Regions from separate parts of the Homo sapiens genome. Here region 2 is linked to region 1. Evidence: promoter capture Hi-C in human tissues and cell types (Jung and others, 2019). All regions are on one chromosome and are shown on one strand. The core of a region is centred on a gene start or on the middle of the fragment in contact, and the rest is flanking DNA. Distances in the headings are between cores, read along the strand shown.

Region 1 (3,882 bases), core at 377-2,876:
TGGGCTGGTGCTGCCTTGAAGGTGGCTCTGAGTCACCCATTCGGGAGAAACGAACAGTAGCACTGGCTGTGGTGAGGTCCGGCCTTTGCATTCCGGGCACCCGGGGTTGGGAAGTTCCTGCTCACATCTGGGGCCCTTGTGGGGGATGGCCCTGGGGCCCCACGGGCAGCTGCAGGTGGGAACAGCCTCAGGCAGCCGCCGCCAGGACCTGCTCAGGGAATGTGGTCTCCAGAGATGGGGACACCCCTCGGTCCCGGGTTCTGTGTGTGAGTGTCAGGGGTGCAGTCAGACCTTGGACCTGACGGCCTCAGTGAGAGCCCCGCGAGACGGGAGACTGTGAGCTCCTGAAGGTTCCGACGGCTGCTGGGAGTGTGGCCACGAGGGCCACTGGGAATCGGGGCCACCAGCCTGCAGCTGCAGCCCCCAGCGTCCGGGGATCCTTGTCCTGGGACTTCGCAGGCTCGGGTGGGGGGTATCAGCAATAGCTGGCGTCCTGCTGGACTGGACCCCTCCCCAGAGCCCGAAGCCCCCAGAAGGGCAGGCCCAGGTTCCCCGTAAACCCCCACTGCCCTGGCTGGAATCGTTCCTCGGACAGGGGCCCAGGGTTGGGTCCATTTCCTCCTCACCGGGGTCTTGGGCCAGTGCCCTCCCCTCTGGCCTCAGTTTCCTCATCCAACCTGCTGTGAGGTGTCACACCCGGAGGGCATCCCAGGAGGAGGAGGGCTCTCTTTCTAGGACCCCCCCATCACTTCCCGGCTGCGGCCCTCCCACCCCCAGGAGAACACAGCCCACCCTCCTAGACGGGGCTGAGCAGCCCGGCCTCCAGCATCTGCCTCTGGGTGGGGCTGGGGCACCTGGCTGGCACCTGCCAAACCCTCACCAGCCCACCTGCCCCAGCTGTGCAGGACCTGCCTGTGGGGTGGCCCTGTTGATATCTGAGGTGAGTCAACACGGCCATCCGTGCCGGCACTGTCAACTAAGCTGGGCAGGCCCCGCGAAGCTCTAAGGAGTCACAGCCCCGGCACCGGCTGCCGCTCTCTGCCCCCACCCCACCACCTTCCCCTCGAGCCTCTTACCTGGGCCGCCCTTCCTGGGACCCCGGGGTGCGGAGCAGCCGGCAGATGCCAGGAGGCCGCTCTCCAGCACAGGGTGCGTCTGGGACATGGAGCCACAGGTGGATCCCGAGGCTGAACTGGCTGCCCTGTCCCTCAGTCTTGAAGCCGGCATGAGGAGGGCCACCCTCAGGGGCCAACCTGGAGCCCAGGACAGGCCTCTACCAGGACTGCCTTTCCCGACCTCCTGCAGCCTTGAGGGAAAGAGGAGGGGCTGGGCCAGCTGGGGCGTCCTGGAGTTGGGCCTCTGTCCCTGGAAAGCCGAGGCCCTCCCGGCCACCAACTGGGTGTCCTCTGCCCTGGGGAGGGGGTGGGAGCCCTGGGGCTCATGTGACGCGGGGCGGGCCTGGGGCTGCAGGCTGGGGAAGGTCTCCCTGCAGCCTGCGGGTGAGGCAGCCAGCTGTGTCCCCGTGATAATGCCGGGGCCGGAGGCCTGCAGCTGCGCCCGCCACTTCCCTGACAGGAACCATCTGGGGCCCTGCCCTGCGCGGCCTTCCCTCGGGCCATTCCGGTTTGACCTTCCAACAACTTCCTCCTCCCAGGCAGCTCTGGTGACGTCCCACCCACCCTGAGCCCTACAGCGTGGCCACTGGGCATGTGTTTCCTCGGCCCCAGGGCAGGTGTGCAGGCCTGAGGGCAGCTCCATCCTGGCCCAGAGCCCTTGGCCTGTCCCGCCCACCCATCTTCCCCCCAGGGCTTGGCCCTTCCTTCAGCCTGGGGTATCTGGGGGTGTCCTCCCTCTCCGCTAGCCCTCAGTCAGCCGAGCTTTCCCCAGCACCCCTTTTAGTTTGCCCCCGCTCCAGGGGCCACCCTGCCCGTGTTCCTGTGTCTGCTGACTGTGCCCTTGAGCAAGGCGGGGCCTCTGACCAGCCTCTCCTCAGCCCCTGCTCCGGGGTTCTTGGGCACCTGACCTGTCCTCAAAGTACCTCCCGCCTGCTGGGAAGGAAACCCTCTCTCTCTGCTTGGCCTCGTGCACAGGGCTCCTGGCCCTCTGTGGAGACAGCAGGGCTCCCCCACTCTCCGGGGGTGCCTCAGAAAGACCCTCACCCCACGCCCCAGCGGCCGCCTCCGGTGAGCAGCCTGGAGTTTGCGGGGGTCGGGGGTAGGTGGCTTCTCCAGTCTGGGAAATTCCAGAAGCCACCTCAGAGCACTCTTGGGACTACTTAGACCCTAGGGAGAGTCCTAGGACCCCTTTCTAGCGGCCGTTGGGCTGAGAGAGTGAGGCACATCCCAGATGCTGGGAAAAAAAGCCACTTTCTAAAGCTCCCTGACAACTGTCAGAGGGCAGGAGCTTCCTGGGAGGGGACAGTGACCCTTCGGCCCTGCAGCCCTGGTTCGGTGGCTTTTCTGATGCCATGGCTGGAGGTTTCCCGGCCTCAGACAGGCCAGAGGTGTGGAGCCCGCAGACCCAGGGCCGGCTCACGGGCATCTGTGCTATTTTGATTTGATTTGATTTGAGTTTTAGGTCACGTTTGCACGCAGTTAATAATTCAAGCCGTGCAGGAGTAAAAGCCGACTCCTTCCCCGCAGGGTCTCCAGGTGTCCCGGGTCTCCCTGTCCCAATAGTCGAGTGTCTTTCTCGAGTTGGTGACAACAAGCTGCATGCCAGCGTGTGTGTCCAGCTTACAGTGGGGATGTGTTTGTTCCTGCTGGGGAACTTCCCAGACGCCAGGCCCACCCGGGGCCTCCCCTGCCCTGGGTGGTCGGCCGTTCTGCCCCCAGGACTGAGGCTGGAGGGGACATTCCTGCCAGCCCGGGGCCCATCCCCTGGTGCCATCATTCGGTCCCCACGTCCCCTGCTGTTCCCTGTGCTCTGGCTCAGGGTGGGATTCACAGTGAGGGTCCTGGGGGCCCTGACCCTCCTGGTTTCCTCATTTGTGCAGGGTGCACGATCCTAACGGCGTCAGCTCCTACAGCGTTTCCGGGAGTGGAGACAGCAGAGGCTCTGAGCCGCCACATGGGCCGGGGCCACCGTGAGCATGTGGCTGGGGTTGGTCTGTGTCAGTGCCTATTCCCCAGCTGTGTGCAGTGAGAGTCTCAGAGTCGGGGAACTGAGGGTCTCAGGGGGCACAGCCCCCACTCCGTGAGGCAGCAGGACAGCACCCTGGGTGAGGGTGGTGGCTCCCCCCACCCGGGGTAGGAGACAGGCAGCCCTGCCCCCAGCCCTGAGGCAGATGTTCGAGGCCTGCACCTGCGCCCCCCACAGATGGGACACTTCCACTTTCGCAATGAGGCCCTGAGCTCCCCGCCTGGCCCCGTCTTGCCTGGTGTCTAATCAGGGGGTCTGACGGAGGTGGGGTTGGAAAGAGAAGAGAAGAAAGTTGCCCACAAGTTGGGGGCAGGAGCTGCCCCCCAACTTTGGCGGCCACCTGGGGGTGTGGGCACCACTCCCCACCTCCCCACTACCGGCCTCCTCTCCCCCAGGCCGGGCAGTTGGTGCTTGTGGGGAAGCAGACGTTGGCTGTGGCTTTCAGAGCTGGGCGGCCAGGAGATAAGGGGCTGGGGAGGAAGTGGCTGCAGAGGTGGGGGCAGCAGGAGGGGCCTCGGCTTCTCCCAGGGACCTCTGCTGTCTGCAGCCAGCACCCAGCCTCTCGGGGCAGGAGGGGCCTTTCCTTCCTTCCTAAAAGACCTATTAGGGCCTACTGGGGTTCTTTCGGTGTCCAAGACAGCCCCTGGTCCTGCTCTCTGGGAACTATAGGAGACACGTTCCATCAACATGGCCCAGCATGTGGGGCCCATAGGGCAGTTGGGGAAACTGTCCCTGGGTGGG
Region 2 (3,882 bases), core at 308-2,807, 260 kb after region 1:
CTAGATCATTCCTAAAGATGGTAAACAACTTGCTGGAAACATGCACTGCATATACAAATCAACTCACTGCATATGCACATCAACTCACTGCATATGCAACTCAACTCACACCGTATATGCAACTCAACTCACACCGTGTATGCAAATCAACTCGCACTGCGTATGCAACTCAACTCGCACTGCGTATGCAACTCAACTCGCACTGCGTATGCGAATCCACTCACTGCCTATGCAACTCAGCTCGCTCTGCGTATGCAACTGAGCTCGCTCTGCGTATGCAACCCAGCTCGCTCTGCGTATGCAACTCAAGTCGCACTGCGTATGCAACTCAGCTCGCTCTGCGTATGCAACTCAGCTCGCACTGCGTATGCAACTCAGCTCGCACTGCGTATGCAAGTCAGCTCGCTCTGCGTATGCAACTCAGCTCGCTCTGCGTATGCAACTCAGCTCGCACTGCGTATGCAACTCAGCTCGCACTGCGTATGCAACTCAGCTCGCTCTGCGTATGCAACTCAGCTCGCTCTGCGTATGCAACTCAGCTCGCTCTGCGTATGCAACTCAGCTCGCACTGCGTATGCAACTCAGCTCGCTCTGCGTATGCAACTCAGCTCGCTCTGCGTATGCAACTCAGCTCGCACTGCGTATGCAACTCGCACTGCGTATGCAACTCAACTCGCACTGCGTATGCAACTCAACTCGCACTGCGTATGCAACTCAACTCGCACTGCGTGTGCAACTCAACTCGCACTGCGTGTGCAACTCAACTCACACTGCGTATGCAACTCAGCTTGCTCTGTGTATGCAACTCAACTCGCACTGCGTATGCAAATCAACTCACTGCATATGCAACTCAGCTCGCACTGCATATGCAACGCAACTCAACTCATACTGCATATGCAACTCAACTCACACTGTATGCAACTCAGCTCGCTCTGCATATGCAATTCAACTCGCACTGCGTATGCAAATCAACTTACTGCATATGCAACTCAACTCACTGCGTATGCAACTCAACTCGCACTGCATATGCAACTCAACTCGCACTGCGTATGCAACTCAACTCGCACTGCGTATGCAACTCAGCTCGCACTGCGTATGCAACTCAACTGTTGCAAGTACTTATTTCCGGCCACTTCCTTTTTCTAACTACCACACCAAGCCAGTATTTCTCCTCCCTGAAGTCAGCCCAGGATGAGGCACTAGACAGCAGGACATGCTGTATGCCCTTGGGCCTGCTGGAAGTATGCAGACTAGCCAGCCCCAGACTTCATCCTGCCCTGTCCTGCCTTTCCTGTGAAAACCCTGTGGCCTCTGCCTCCCCTGGCTCTGACTTCTGCCTCCTGCCCAGCTCTGCAGCTCCCCTTGGGCCCTGCCTGGAGTGATGTGCCGCCTTCTCTTGACACTGTGAGTGATAAACTTTCCATGTCAGGAACCTGTGTGTGTCACTCACTCACCTTGACGAGTCCGCGTCTAGGCCCCACCAGTGGTGTGGTTTTCCTCATAGTCTCTCTACCTAAGCACATGTCTGTGACAAGGTCTTACCCAGCCCAGGGATTCTTGAACTATCTGTAGGAACTGCCATGTTGACTCCTGGGCAGTTTTATTCTTTCTCTCTACTCGTTCAACCTTCTTAGGGAGTGACGTTTTTTCCAAAGTGGTTGTGAAACAGCATCTCCTTGGGGTGTTGGTTTGCACTTCTCTTCATTACTGATAGTATGAACATGGTTTTGCTTACGCTGGCTATTTTCCTTTTTGGATGAAGTACCTGGTCTTGTTTTTTCCTGGTTTGTTTGATCTTTGTTCTTTTTTAGAAATAGTGAGGCTGTTGTGAGGTGAGTCACCACTTGTGACTTAGAAGATTGCAGTGGTTTCCACTTCACCTGTTTCCACTTTTGTGATGATGCCTTAAGGAAAAAGATTGTGCCAGGTGTGGTGGCTCAGGCCTGTAATCCCAACACTTTGGGAGGCCGAGGTGGGTGGATCACAAGGTCAGGAGATCAAGACCATCCTGGCCAACATGGTGAAACGCCATCTCTACTAAAAATAGAAAAATTGGCTAGATGTGGTGGTGCACGCCTGTAATCCCAGCTCCTTGGGAGGCTGAGGCAGGAGAATTGCTTGAAGATGGGAAGCACAGATTGCAGTGAACCGAGATCGCGCCACTGCACTCCAGCCTGGCAACAGAGTGAGACTCTGTCTCAAAAAAAAAGGAAAAATATTTCTTAATTTTGGCATACTCAAATTTATACAACCTTTCCTTTATCTTCATCAGAAATTTCTTTTCTCCTAAGGCCTTAAATATGCTGTACTATTTTGGCTTCCACAGTTTCTATGTTTTATCCCAAGTTGCTTAATCCATTTGGAGTTGATTTTTGTTGACCGTATCTGTAGAGTGTAATGTCATTTTTCCCACTATGGACATAAAAATTTTTGCAAGGCCTCTTTTTTTTAATGAAGAAAAGAGGTTTATTTTGTTCACAATTCTGAAGGCCTGGAGGGTCCCAGAAGCTTGGCACCAGCACCCACTAGGCTCCAGATCGGGGCCTCATGCTGACTTCCGTTTTCACACAACGAGTGGGAAACAGGTGTCCTAACACTGTGAGAGAAAAAATCCGAAAGTTTAGTTTTTCCCATTCGCTTGCCCTGGCCTCCAGGCAGTCCTGCAGCAGCAAACACATCATCAGCCTTAGGAGCTGGCCTGTGAGGTTGACCACTCTGTAGGTGGACGAGCCTCGCCCGAGAAGAGACATGAGCAGTTCTGCGTAGGCTTTAAGACAGAATCAACATGGAAAGCACGACCCACATGGTTTCAATAGAACTTGCCTCCTGAACCTGACTAGGTTACTCGCCTGATGAACCAGTATCTCCATCACCCGTGGGACTGACAGACCCAGAGTGTCATAACCTAAAATTCAGAAGTGTAGACTATAATCTTAAATTATTCAGCATATGTGCAACAGCCTTGGGGAGCAGTGTTATGATACCAAATGGCTAACATTCATGACCTCAGTATCCTGGAAGAAAAGGAGAAAGTGTGATGTAGTAAAACCACTTGAAAAAATAATGATGAAACATTTCTCATATTTGGTGTAAGATAAAAACTTAAGTTTGAAGAGGTTCCATGAGCCCCAGACAGGATAAACCTAAAGAAAACCAAGCCCAGGCCGGGGGCGGTGGCTCACACCTGTAATCCCAGCACTTTGGGAGGCCGAGGTGGGCGGATCACAAGGTCAGGAGATCATGACCATCCTGGCCAACACAGTGAAACCTCGTCTCTAGTAAAAAAAAAAAAAAAAAAGAAAAATACAAAAATTTAGTTGGGCGTGGTGGCGGGCGACTGCAGTCCCAGCTACTGGGGAGGCTGAGGCAGGAGAATGGCGTGAACCCGGGAGGCAGAGCATGCAGTGAGCTGAGATTGCACCACTGCACTCCAGCCTGGGCAACAGAGCGAGACTCTGTCTCAAAAAAGAAGAAAGAAAAGAAAACCAAGCCCCTGCCACCACGAAGCTGCCGAAAGCTACAGAGTGAAAGTCTTGGAAGGAGGCTGAGAAAGTGGACACAGTGCTTCCAGAAGAACAATTCAATTGACCGGGTTTCTCGTCGGAAGCCATAGAGGCCAACAGGAAATGTAGGAGCATTTTTCAAGTTCTGAAATAAAAAGAAATGCCAACCCAGATTGCTATATCCAACAAAATATCCTTTAGGAATGAAACAGAAGTAACGATGAGGCAATACAAAGAATTGCCTGCAGACCTGGTTTAAATAAATGGTTACAGAAAACTCTTAAGGAAACCTGGAACAAAGGAAAAGCAATAGAAGAGTAAATACCTGAGTAAATAGATCAGATCATTCTACTCTTGAGTTCTTTAAAATATATATTAT

The links. Contacts are between HindIII fragments. The study calls those that stand out against the background at their distance.
Region 2: a fragment that was not itself captured here is called in contact with the fragment with the promoter of CBFA2T3 in region 1 in 1 of the 25 tissues and cell types used here (small bowel).

What each region holds. Positions count from the first base shown.
Region 1 is chr16:88,975,581-88,979,462 of GRCh38, forward strand. It overlaps CBFA2T3 (CBFA2/RUNX1 partner transcriptional co-repressor 3), which reads right to left and starts at 1,627. Exons shown (of 12, transcript NM_005187.6): 1 at 1,077-1,627. The coding sequence starts at 1,227. RefSeq lists enhancers at 1-296, 1-158, 1,999-2,048. The HindIII fragment of the contact is 13,654 bases long and covers 1-3,882 here.
Region 2 is chr16:89,232,715-89,236,596 of GRCh38, forward strand. It overlaps ZNF778 (zinc finger protein 778), which reads left to right. Exons shown (of 7, transcript NM_001201407.2): 7 at 1-3,882. Among named protein-coding and RNA genes, the nearest start is that of ZNF778, 17 kb to the left of the region's middle. The HindIII fragment of the contact is 6,577 bases long and covers 1-3,882 here.